Regions from separate parts of the Homo sapiens genome. Here regions 1 and 2 are each linked to region 3. Evidence: promoter capture Hi-C in human tissues and cell types (Jung and others, 2019). All regions are on one chromosome and are shown on one strand. Each heading gives the region's core, a stretch centred on a gene start or on the middle of the fragment in contact. The rest is flanking DNA. Distances are from core to core; before and after follow the strand shown.

Region 1 (3,903 bases), core at 542-3,041, 1.2 Mb before region 3:
GTAAGACACAGAAAAAGACCCACCAGAGCGCCATTCAGTTTTCAATGCTTCAAAGATTTACACACTCTTCCTATTATCATTAATGGCTATTATGAACATAATCTGTCCCCATGCACCAAGGGGAGAATAAATTCCTCACAGAGGGGAAATAGAGGGTATTCAAAGAAAAAAAATATTTTATGCAGAAAGCTGATGCCTGCTAGTTGATAATGAATGCAGTAGGAGTAATAGTAATTTGTTTAAATTCCTCATTAAATGAGTCATAAAGGTCATGGGGCAATACTAGAAACACACACACACACACACACACACACACACACACACACACACACACACAGCATCTCTGAATTATCCAGCAAAGCAACAATGTTAAAAATGTCTTTTTAAAAAAATTAGAGCTAATTAAATTAAAAATAAAAATCAGGATTAAACTAAAAATAAAAGGGAGCTGGAATTCCAATAACTTTAAATTATATAGATCATATAAAAGCAGAAAAGTAGAAGAATGGATCAAACAAGAAAACCCCTCTGTGACAGTCCATGCTGCCCCAAGTCACTAAATCTGCAGATGACAGAAACAAAATAGAGAGATACATCTTGTGCACAGGAAAAAAGCAAGCATATTCCTAAGTGACTAGAATACATGAGTCTGGTGGGTTGATAAGTGACTTATACAGATCAAATAGGTGTTAGATAATGAGGCAAGGGAGCAAAAATATTCTTAGAGGGTAAAAGCTCACAAGTCAGCAGTATAGAGGCATTCTCAAGAGCAGAATCATTGCATATTTTAACGCCTTCTTGGCTAATAAGAATAAAACAGGCAGGCAAAGTGGAAATATGGGACTCAGAACATAATTTCTACTTCCCTGGGAGCAGCATTTCTTAGGGTGATTGGGAGGTTTTTGCTCCTCATCAGATCTTTATTAATCCATTGTCATGTCTCTGTGTTTTATTATTCCTGCCAGGGTAACAGATTCTATTCATGCTTTCAGGTCATAAAGTGTACCAGCTAACTCAGGGGACTGAAAACAAAATTAAGAATGAGGTATGGCACGTTCCTTTTCTTCTCAGAGCCTCGGCTTTTTCCCCTGAAAATGAGGCTAATAGACACTATCCCCTAGGGCGGTTATGTGAGAGAATAGACACTTGTTGTATATCCCCCAAAGGTGATAAAAATGGTGTAAGTCTCCCCGTATCACGTTGAGCCCATGGTGAACACTCAGTAAACATGGACTGCTATTATCATTGCACTGGAAGGCTTCCCACCATCGAGAGTCATTAAATCCAGGAGATTGGGAGCTGTTTTCCTCTGGAGCATTTTATTTTTGTTCAAAAGAAATACAGCACAGATTTGGCCAAATCCGCAGACAAATTGTCAAGGCCAGGAATAAAGTCTGTTTAGTACACTCTGAATATAGCACCTAACACACAATTATAAATATAGAGTGCTTAATGGGGAGTATTTGATTTAAAAAATGGTAAAATCTATTGCCAAGATTAAATGAGATGACCTCTTTGGAGTCCTTCCACTAGAGGCAATAAAGAATAAAAATGAACATTAAATATGTATGTGCTCTCTATCTCAAACCCATCTGGCCTATGATATCAATACTGGGCCAGAGCAACAAATATGTGCATCTTCATATTTCTAAACTTCAAAAAATGGCCCATGCAGTACAAAACCCAAGAGCATTAAAAATGGCCTTTGACTCTGCTTGTGATGCACCACCCGTAGCCACCATACCCAGAGGTGAACTGTAGATCAAAAAGAATTACTATGGTGCCAAAGAGACTCCCATAAAATTGCACTACGCTATTATACCATTTTGGTTGCCTTTGGGAAATATGTAAGTCAAAAGTATCTAACCATGGGTAAATAAAGTCAGTTTGCACTTAAGAAAATAGAAAAGCTGATGGAAGAATTAAGTTTGCTTATTTAAGTAGCCTTTTATGTAAAAGGGTTAAGAACACTACTTCCACCTTCTGCCAATGAGCTATGTTCTTCTGAAAATTGGAGCAGTATACTAACTCTGATGTGACAAAATTTGAAAATGCTAATGGGGCAAGGTTCTGTAAACTCTGTCTCTATACCTTATTATATCTTGCTATTGTATAGTGGACATCGTTCAATAAGAAGTAAAGTAAATATAAAGGGCAACAAATCAAAGATTGTATTCTCACAGAGGAGTGGCTCTGGATGAGTGGCAATCCCAAGGCATAAACATCTCTTCTACATTCCAATGCTCTAAGAATGGAAGACCGATCTCCAAAGATCAAAATGACCATTGTTGTTTAAAAACTACCATTTGCTTAGAATAAAAAACAAACTGTCCTGAAATAAGCTTGCCATCTATATCATCTTATATCCAGGAGGACAATAAGCCAAGAAAGATAAAACAGAGAAAAAGCAGTTGAATTAGTTGAATTACAGTATATTTCATCATAGAATGATAGTGTACCCTTAAAAAAAAAAATCCAGTACAGTTCAAAGAGAACATCATTTCTAAACATTACAGGCAAAAAGAAAGGTTTTTTAAATTTCATTTTGTGTTCAAGTTTACTGCAAATTACATACGACAATACAGTTCTTAAATAGTACAAAATGAAGCTCCAACTTCAATTTTGGTGCTGTGGTTTTTATATTTGTGTAGTTGTTAAAATAAGATGGAATGTTGGCATAACTATCAGACAGCAGAAAACAAGCTGCTGAATGAGGAGGAAAGAACCAAAGAAACAGTGGAGAAGGGAATTGTAGTTTGAATGGAATTTTGGTGCAAATGGTGGCGATCTGTTGTACAGTCTGCATTAATTGGGTTATTTCTGAATGAACATTTGATTATTATAACAGAACATTCTATGTATAATCTCGTAAAACTGTAAATTCCTGGCAGAGTCACTTTGAAAGTATGAGGCTGACAAGCCCTTCTTTTGAAAAACTGAGAACTATTTGCATGAGAATTATCACTCTGAAGCAAGCAAATTCCAGTGCTGTTGACTCACTGCCTCAGCCACCTACACTGGGGCTCCCAGGCAGAATGGGTTCCAACCCACTGTACGTGGGGATTCCAGGACCCACCAGTTCACGGGAGTCACATGAGAAATAACAACAGGAAGAAACTTTGCTGCCAAATAAAAAGAGACCAAATCAACAGAAAAACAGTAAGGACATTTTGTTTTATGGTTTAATTGGATTTTTAAATTATTATGCCCTAGGATCTATCTGAAACATAGACTCAAACAAATGAAGAAAGGACTTTTAGGAACTTGAAAAACCATGTATACTTATTATGGCAAGTATGTGCCTCTCAAGTTCAACATGTCAAACACATGATTTTATCCTGTTGGAACAAAAACAGAAAAAGGAGGTAGAAGTCTTCATACAGAACTCTCAGCCCCTCATTAAGAAGTTGGAAATTGTATTTAGCTGTACAGAACAGAGGAATACATGACTGCTAATTTTCTAACTCATTCATTTTTGTTAAGTTCTAATAAGGCAACTGGATTTTTCTACTTGCTAGGCATCAAGCATCATTTTGAAATATTAATAAATCCTTAGAAAGCAGAAACCATGTCTGAATGACTCAGTATACATTGTCCGTTGTGGCATCACTTACAAAAGGTTACTGAGATTGACGAAGTAATAAATGATGAGTTCAGCTGGGCGCTGTGGCTCTCACCTGTAATCCTAACACTCTGGGAGGCTGAGACAGGTGGATCACTAGAGCCTAGGAGTTTGAGACGAGCCTAGGCAACACAGGGAGACGCGGTCTCTACAAAAAATTAGCTGGGCATGGTGGCGTGTACCTGTAGTCCCAGGTACTCAGGAGGCTGAGGTGAGAGGATCACCTGAGCCCAGGAAGTCCAGGCTGCAGTGAGCTGAGATTGCACTACTGCATTCCAACC
Region 2 (4,119 bases), core at 203-2,702, 1.4 Mb before region 3:
TCTTCAGAGCCTGTGGTCAAATAATAACTATGAAATGTATCCACATTGATATGTACTCAGGAAAATATCCTAATCTTTAAAGTAGGAAAATAAGATTAAAATATTCGTAAATTATGTTCTTATTTAAATGTCAAACCCGAAACTACTCAGGATTTTTTTTTTTTTTTTTTAGGAATTGGGGGTAGGGGGGGTGGGTCTCACTATGTTGCCCAGGCTGGCCTCAACCTCTCTGCTCAAGAGATCCTCCTGCCTCAACCTCCTGTGTATCTGGGACTACAGGCGTGTGTCATCACAACCGACTAGTTTTTTTTTTTTTTTTCTTTAAGTAAGTTTTAAATGAATTTTTCTGTTGTGTTGCTGTCTTTAATAAGTGAACATATGTTTGCATTTGCACAAGTGTATTAAACTCTAACATGCATATTGACAAGTGTACATATAAGGTCAGAGCTCAAGGAATTTTCATAAGCTGAAGACACCATGTAAACTTTACAAACATTAAAAAGAATCAACCAGCACCCCAGTAGCCTTCCTTCTATTCCTTTTTAATCACCACCCCTTCCCAAGGGTTATCCTACCTCCTGACAAAATAGATTGGTTTTGCCTCTCTTTGTACTTAAATAAATGGAATCATAAATTATGGACTCTTTTGCTATGGCTTCTTTGACTCAAATTTATGTTTACGAGACTCATCCATAGTGATGAGTATAATTAGAATTGGTTTATTTTCATTGCTGCATAGCATTTCATTATGTGAATATACCACAATTTATCCACTCTACTGTTCATAGGCATTTGGACAATTTCCAGTGTTTGATTGCTCAAAAAAATAATTCTGGGAACATTCTCATATGCCGTTTCATTCACATATCTATACATTTTTGTATGGACTATATGGAGGGGTGAAATTGCCAGATCACAGGGTATAAAAGCATTTAGAAAGATATTACCTATTTGGAAATCAAGCTCAATAAATAATGTTATGAGTTAGTAGTAGCACAAACCAAATGAGAAATGCTTAATAAAATAAGCATTAGCTGTGAGAATATGTGTCAACATTCACACAACATCTTCCTAATTCCATCTTCCATCTTCCTCTTTCCAGTATCAGATTTTAGCCACAGTTCATTAGAAGCTTATCTTGTCATTTTTCAGGAAATTTATTTTATAATACCACATTATGCTTCAGGGCATGTGTTTCAGGACAACTGAGGGAGTCTTCATGGTGGATTTGGGCTGGAGTTGAGGTAGAGCAAGGGCCCCTGCATTTGGTGTTATCAGTCTTCTGGGACTTTCTTGGGGTACTGTTTTCACTTCTTCTTCTTATTTCTAGTTTAGTAAATTTCACATATAATGCTTCAAGCTGCTGTGGGCTTATTTTTTTTGCCATTTGTGTTAAAACATGCTATGAAATTCTTGCTTACAAAACTTGGATAGAAGGCATGATAACACCAATTATTTGTCTTATCTCTGCCCAACCACCTAAATGATATAATTACTGGCAACTGAGGTTTTTTCCTATGCCTGTTGGCATTTAGACCCCTAAGAGTATTATACAGGCTAGGGTAAATTAACCTGAGAGAAAATAGCATGGTAACTTATTTCAAAACACAAATCATTTTTACTAGAACCAGGCCAAATCAATGTCTTTGAGAAGCTACAGGGTCTTGAGTCAAATTACTGGGGGTGGACATGGTACTTTTTCCTAAACACACAATGAAAAGGATCACTCTGATTATAAAGTCTGAGTTTCCCTTTCTAACCCGTCTGTGGCACATGACCAGTTTATTTGGTGGAAAACACATTCCTCAGACCCCAGGACAGGCCAACTTGTCCTAGTTTAACTTGTGCTGTGCTTTTTTGTAATAGCAACCTAAGACGGAAACATCTGGAAAAATACCATGACTGAGCTGGTGGGATCAAAGACCAAAGTGAAATGCTCTATTGTTAATTTCCAGGAACTGACACAGAACGCAGAGTGAAATAACTCAGCTGGGCATGAATCCCGTTGGATTTCTGAAAAGCTTGCATACTACTATATTGCCTCAGCCGATAACTGAAGGAAAAGTAGTTCAGCAAAGTTGAGGAAAAACAAATTTTTGTGCATGTGTATGCACATGCATGTGTATGCATACGCACATGTGGAAGAACTCAGGTCTGTGTTCAACATGTTAATAGTGTATTCCTCTGCTGGCAAAGACAGCTTGCCATAAAAATACTGAAAAAAAAAAAAACAAAAAACAAAAGCAAGCTGAAGAAACACTTAAGTCCTTCATGAATTGAAATTAAGAACTGTGCTTGCAAAGAAGCATCCCGGTGCCCCACCAGACTGAACTCCAGGGGGCAGTGGCTTTCTGGCATATCTTTGCTCCCCTTGGCAGCTGGGGCAGTGTCTGGCTCATAGTTTTGCAGTAACCGAAGGTGTACTGGATGAAGGATTAATAAATGCATAAATGAATGGGAGAATAAATACAACAAGCAGCAAAGCTTCATAGTCTCAGTGCTGAATTCAAAGTGAGAAGTCTAAACCTTGACACTTTTCAAGCCTTTCTCATTTGCAGCCAGTTTGCCTCCTTGAACTTTGTTCAATACATTACGAAGAAAGAAAGAAAACAATACTTACCTACCTTGAGTAGACATTTGATGCTTAGATATTTGCAGAATCAGGACTAGAAAGGTCCTTCAGACATCACCCCTAGATTCTCTGTCCATAGCAAGTGTATAATGACAGAATGGATGTGAAATGAAGAAATGTCCAAGAAATGAGATTATGCAGTCTCCTTGGGTAACGACTGAAGTTAGAGTACTGAGCAAATGTAAATTGCAACAGAAATGGTAAAGAAAATTAATATGAACTGACGTCTTTGATGAGAGTAAGAGTAGTAAGACTATGTGGGGAAAAATAATCTGAACAATTTGAATCAGGTTCTATTGACTCAATGATCAAGCCCTAGAATATAAACCCAAGGAGGGCTGATATGTTTATCTGTTTTGTTCATTAATGTATCCCAAGGGTTGAGAACAATGCCAGACATATTACAGATGCTTAGCACATGTTTGTTGAATGAATGAACCTTAATATGTTAAAAAAAAAAAAGAGGAGGCATGAAACTCCATTATATTAGGCCAATTCATTCTCCAGTTCATTTACTCTATGTTTTCCCCAACTGTGGTGCCACACAATGATACTTTTGATCATACAGTTTAAAGGACAAAAAGGTAGAGAATAAAATGCCTTTTCCCTTCCCCTACCTTGAGCTCCTTTTCCATACAACCTCTGAATATTTGGGCAATAAAGTCAAAAGTCTGCAGCTGGAGAACAGTGGTATCAGTTTCATGTACTTAATGTGTGAATGCAGTATGTAATTGCAAGAGAAAAGAGAAAGTGCTAGCTTTCTCTCTTTTACAGTTTGTGTGAACATAAATCAAATACAGGAAAGTTATAAAGTCATTGTGCAGTTTTTTAAACATTTATAATTCTGATGTCAGAGGTGGTAGAAAAAATTTGTAAATGGCATGCAAATCAAATTTTCCTCCTAAAGTTGTTAAAACCTGAGTTCTGCTAGTCCCAGCACCTATTTTTATCTTCTTGTCTACCATAGGCATATGAACATTTGTCACAGGTACTTGAATAATGAATACATCTTGTACAATCACATAAGGGTTTTCTTCTTAAACATGAACATGTTTTTGTTTTAAAATGTCATCTGCAGATTTCTTCTAGCCTGCCGATACATTTAGGTTATTCCAAGTTTAGAAGAGCCCGAAGGTGTAGGGAGACTCCTCTTAACTCCAGGAAGAAACAAAGGTGGGATAGGCCAAGTTGCTTTTATTACACTTCTTACCAGTGTCCAGTGTCTTTTCTCTTCTTTGGAATCATCCTGCCTTATTCATATCCCTCTTGAAACAGGACAGGACTGGACTCTACCAAAAAGACTAACTACCCAAGCTTTTTCCCAAAGGCACTGTTGGTTAACAGACATGTTGCAGAAGAATCTGTGTGAAGCCCTCAACTGCTCTGACTTGGGTGCCCCCAGAGGCTAAATTAGGTCACACCAGCTGCATAATATTAAATGGGGCAGGGGCGGCCGGAGCAACGCTGTGAGAAGCTGACATTCCTCA
Region 3 (3,980 bases), core at 230-2,729:
AAGTGGTAATCAGGGGAATGAATCTCACATGTAATCTTTACTACAATGTTTTCTTTCAAGACTGCTATCATACCACAGAAAACAATCTACATTATAGGAAAATCACGTCTAAGTAACTCCCTAGCACTAAAAATAATAAACCTCTCGACCTAACCTCCCACCTGAGTTTGTTTCCACTGACAGCAGCTCATCAGTACTTCAAATGCAACACCTTCAACACCACATTCAAGACTCCTCTTTCAGACTGACTTTCCATTTTTCACACTTTCTATATTAAAAGGCCCCCTAACATAAACAGGTATTTGTTGTTTTCTAAAAATTATAATATATGGAAAAATCTTTCTCAAGCCTGGCTCCGCATTCTTCTGTTAACATTAAGGATACCCTAATACTCCAACGCAGCCAGTTGAAATTTTTGCTATCTCTGACTACCCTACCATTATCCCATGACGTCACATCCCTTTAATTCTACCTGTGCAATTTTTCTCCTCCATTCAGCTGGTCCTTCCCATCTTCACTGCTACTAACCTGCTTCAGCACTGTACTTAACCAAACTGCCTTCTGAGTGTTACGCATGGAATTTATGCAGCGGAATTAGGTTTTCATAATAAAGTTCTCGGAGGATAAATACCAAAACCAAGTATGCCACAATTCCCTTTTTTCCTGGCTAACTTCAACCAGTGGTCCTCCTTCAGATTTCGTCAGACTTTTCCAGAAACGATATCCTGAGTCTCCCCTATAATGGTTAGGTGTCCCTATTTGCTATCCCAGCAAGTACTCATTCATGTTGGCTGAATAGTGTACTCTGTTTACCTACACTATCTCAGCTATTACTTCACTACATAGCACTTGAATTGTCTACTTTCTGGAACTACACGCTCCGTGATGGCAGGACTGTCTCACTTGGGGTTTACAACCAGTACTGGCACGCTGTTTTTCGAGTTTTTCAGTAATGAACTAAAGAATAAATGAAGGAAAACAAATGAGACTATCAAATAAATCTTGGGAGGCAAAAGATAAAAACCTGGGTAAACTGACAGGAGATGATGACAAGAGGAATGAGGCGCGGCGTGTAGTAGAGCACAGCGACCAGGTTTGTAATCGTAGCTCTGTTTTCACGCACACTATGACCTTGGGCAAGTCATCTTTTCTTTCTGGGATTTCTCTTTCCTCAGATTTAAAGCAATAGCTTCTAAGACCCAGCAGGTGGTAACATCGACCCCAGGAAGTCGGAGGATGTACAGGACGGGGCACGGGGTTGCCTGAGGACCTACCGGGCCAACAGCGCTGAACTGCGGTACCTGACTGTTCCGTGCCGAACAGTGAGTAGCATAATCGCAGCCGCTGATGTCTCCGGGCTTCCAGAGGACAAAGGGTGGCGGGAAAGGGGGCGAAGAGGTAGGAACGTCGAGACTCTAGGAAACATCGCCGAGACACGAAATGAACCAAGAACACAACTGAAATGGTGCGTCCCGCTGCCAAACACGTCCCCGCCCTCTCTTCCGCTTCCGGCCTGGCGCCTTCCTCCCCCTTTGCGCTCCGGTGGGCTACAGGGGCGGGTAACTGTGTTCCGGACTCGCCCGCGGCCGGGCGGAGCCAGTTGCCTCCAAGCGACCCGACCCACCCCGCGATTGTAGTCCTAGAGGCGGAGTCCTCGCCAGAGTTCAGCAAAGGTTCGCTGGCCGAGGCGGGTCCCAGACCGGCGAACCCGACAGTGGAGGGCGTGACCAGTTGTGCAAAAACTACAGATGGTGCCAGTGAGATCAGTCTCTTCTTTAACAGACAATATTTTGCGATGTTTGGAGGGGAAGGGTCTACAGCGTTCACCACGTTCTCAAAATGCGCCATGGCCACCAAAGAGGTTTAAAAAAAATTACTAAAAGACCTGCTGCCCTATGAATTAGCGTTTCCTTTCAGTCTTTATTTTTGATGTAGAGTCAAAATGAGACATAGGTTTCATTTTTCAAAAATAGCTTTATGGCCGGGCACGGTGGCTCACGCCTGTAATCCCAGCACTTTGGGAGGCCGAGGCGGGTGGGTCACTTGAGGTCACGGGTGCGAGACCAGCCTGGCCAACATGGTGAAACCCCATCTCTACTAAAAAAAAAAAAAAAAAAAAAAAATACAAACACACACACACACACACACACACAATTAGCCGGCCGTGGTGGCGGGCGCCTGTAATCCCAGCTACTGGGGAGGCTGAGGCAGGAGAAGCGCTTGAACTCGGGAGGTGGGGGCTGCAGTGAGCCGAGATCGCGCCATTGCACTCCAGCTTGGGCTACAGGGCGAGATTCTTTGTCTCAAAAAAACAAAAAAGAAAAGAAAAAAAGATTTACGCCGGGGGCACAGTGGCTCATACCTGTAATCCCAGTACTTACGGAAGCCGAGGCGGGCAGATCACTTGAGGCCAGGGGTGAAGACCAGCCTGGTCAACATAGTGAAACCCTGACTCTACTAAAAATGCAAAAATTAACCTGGCGTGGTGGCGAGTGCCTATAATCCCAGCTACTCGGGAGGCTGAGGCAGGAGAATAGCTTGAACCCGGGAGGCGGAAGCTGCAGTGAGCCAAGATTGTGCCACTGCACTCCAGCCTGGGCAACAGAGTGAGACCCCGTCTCAAAAAAAAAAAAGGATGAAAAGATGCAAGAGAGAGACTTGGCTTTTACCTGTCCCTCATGAAACAGGGAACTGTGACCCCAGAAGAGATGTGGGGTTCCCAAACTTGGAAGGGGATGAGAATAAATCTGGTGGGAAATGTTGGCTAATAGGACACATGGGAACCACTAGCCTAAAATTCCATAAAGGCATTCCAAAGTTTACATCAACATTTTCCCTGTCCTCTCAAAAAATAATCAAGGTGGGGAGGTGAGTTTTTGTGATACTAAAACACAGCTTACATTGAGCAGATCTTCCTGAGATCCACTAACACTAACAGAACCTTTGTGACTGAATGCTCTACACAGTACACTTGGGGATGCTTACTTTGTCTGATTTGTAAAAAAACAAACAAAAATTAAAGCATAACTTTGTCAAAAAACAAAATTATGGCAAATTTAGCATAATTGGTTTTTATTTGTGATTCTAGAATAGTGTTCCAGTGAGTTGAGCAGAGGGGTTTGGCTTTACAAGCACAAAAGAGTTGAAGAAAATAGAAACAGGGAACAAAAATCAGATTGGTCATTTCAAAGTTACCTTCCTTATAGGGTTAAAACAGAGGGATTCCTTGTCATGCTGGCTCAGGTAAACTAGGGCCCCTCTGATTGGTGCTGTGAATCTCCTGCTTTTGGAAAACTGGCCCTGATTTCAAAGTTCAGTTTGATTACTTGGCACTTAGCACAAGTGACTATTCTGGTTTGCTCTGGTGTGCTGGGGGCTAGTACAGGAAGCTTGTCCAAAACTACGGCCTCCTATAAACTTTAGCAACTTCAATACAGAAAAGTGTATGAATTATAAATATGTTGATGAAAATGTATCTTTGTTATTGTTGAGATGGAGTCTTGCTCTGTCACCGAGGCTGGAGTGCAGTGGTGCTATCTCAGCTCACTGCAACCTCCACCTCCCAGGTTCAAGCAATCCTCCTGCCCTAGCCTCCCGAGTAGCTGGGAGTACAGGCGTGCACCACCACCCCCAGCTAATTTTGGCATTTTTAGCAGAGACAGATTTCACTATGTTGGCCAGGCTAGTCTCGAACTCTTGATTTCAGGTGATCTTCCCATCTTGGCCTCCCAAAGTGCTGGGATTACAAGCATTAGCCACCGTGCCTGACCAAAAATGTGTTTAAGGAATGATCACAGAGTTAATTCACCCATATAAACCTCCACCTGGATCAAGAAATAGAATATTAGCAGTACAGCATACTTTCCTTGATATCACTTGATACCCAGTGGAAAATCCATTCTTGAGTATAATAAGCAGTCCATGTGGATCACATTTAATAGTTACCTCATCTTTTTTCGATTTCTTATAATATCCTTCAA

The links. Contacts are between HindIII fragments. The study calls those that stand out against the background at their distance.
Region 1: a contact is called between a fragment that was not itself captured here and the fragment with the promoter of MRPS31 in region 3, in 1 of the 25 tissues and cell types used here (dorsolateral prefrontal cortex).
Region 2: a contact is called between a fragment that was not itself captured here and the fragment with the promoter of MRPS31 in region 3, in 1 of the 25 tissues and cell types used here (dorsolateral prefrontal cortex).

The regions. Positions count from the first base shown.
Region 1 is chr13:39,562,804-39,566,706 of GRCh38, forward strand. The region is part of intron 2 of LHFPL6 (LHFPL tetraspan subfamily member 6); the gene reads right to left. Among named protein-coding and RNA genes, the nearest start is that of LHFPL6, 38 kb to the right of the region's middle. RefSeq lists enhancers at 680-1,180, 1,181-1,681, 2,234-3,433. The HindIII fragment of the contact is 6,061 bases long and covers 1-3,903 here.
Region 2 is chr13:39,413,283-39,417,401 of GRCh38, forward strand. The region is part of intron 2 of LHFPL6 (LHFPL tetraspan subfamily member 6); the gene reads right to left. Among named protein-coding and RNA genes, the nearest start is that of LHFPL6, 190 kb to the right of the region's middle. RefSeq lists an enhancer at 3,761-4,119. The HindIII fragment of the contact is 3,525 bases long and covers 1-3,215 here.
Region 3 is chr13:40,769,711-40,773,690 of GRCh38, forward strand. It overlaps MRPS31 (mitochondrial ribosomal protein S31), which reads right to left and starts at 1,480. Exons shown (of 7, transcript NM_005830.4): 1 at 1,275-1,480. The coding sequence starts at 1,426. RefSeq lists an enhancer at 1,369-1,538. The HindIII fragment of the contact is 6,562 bases long and covers 1-3,980 here.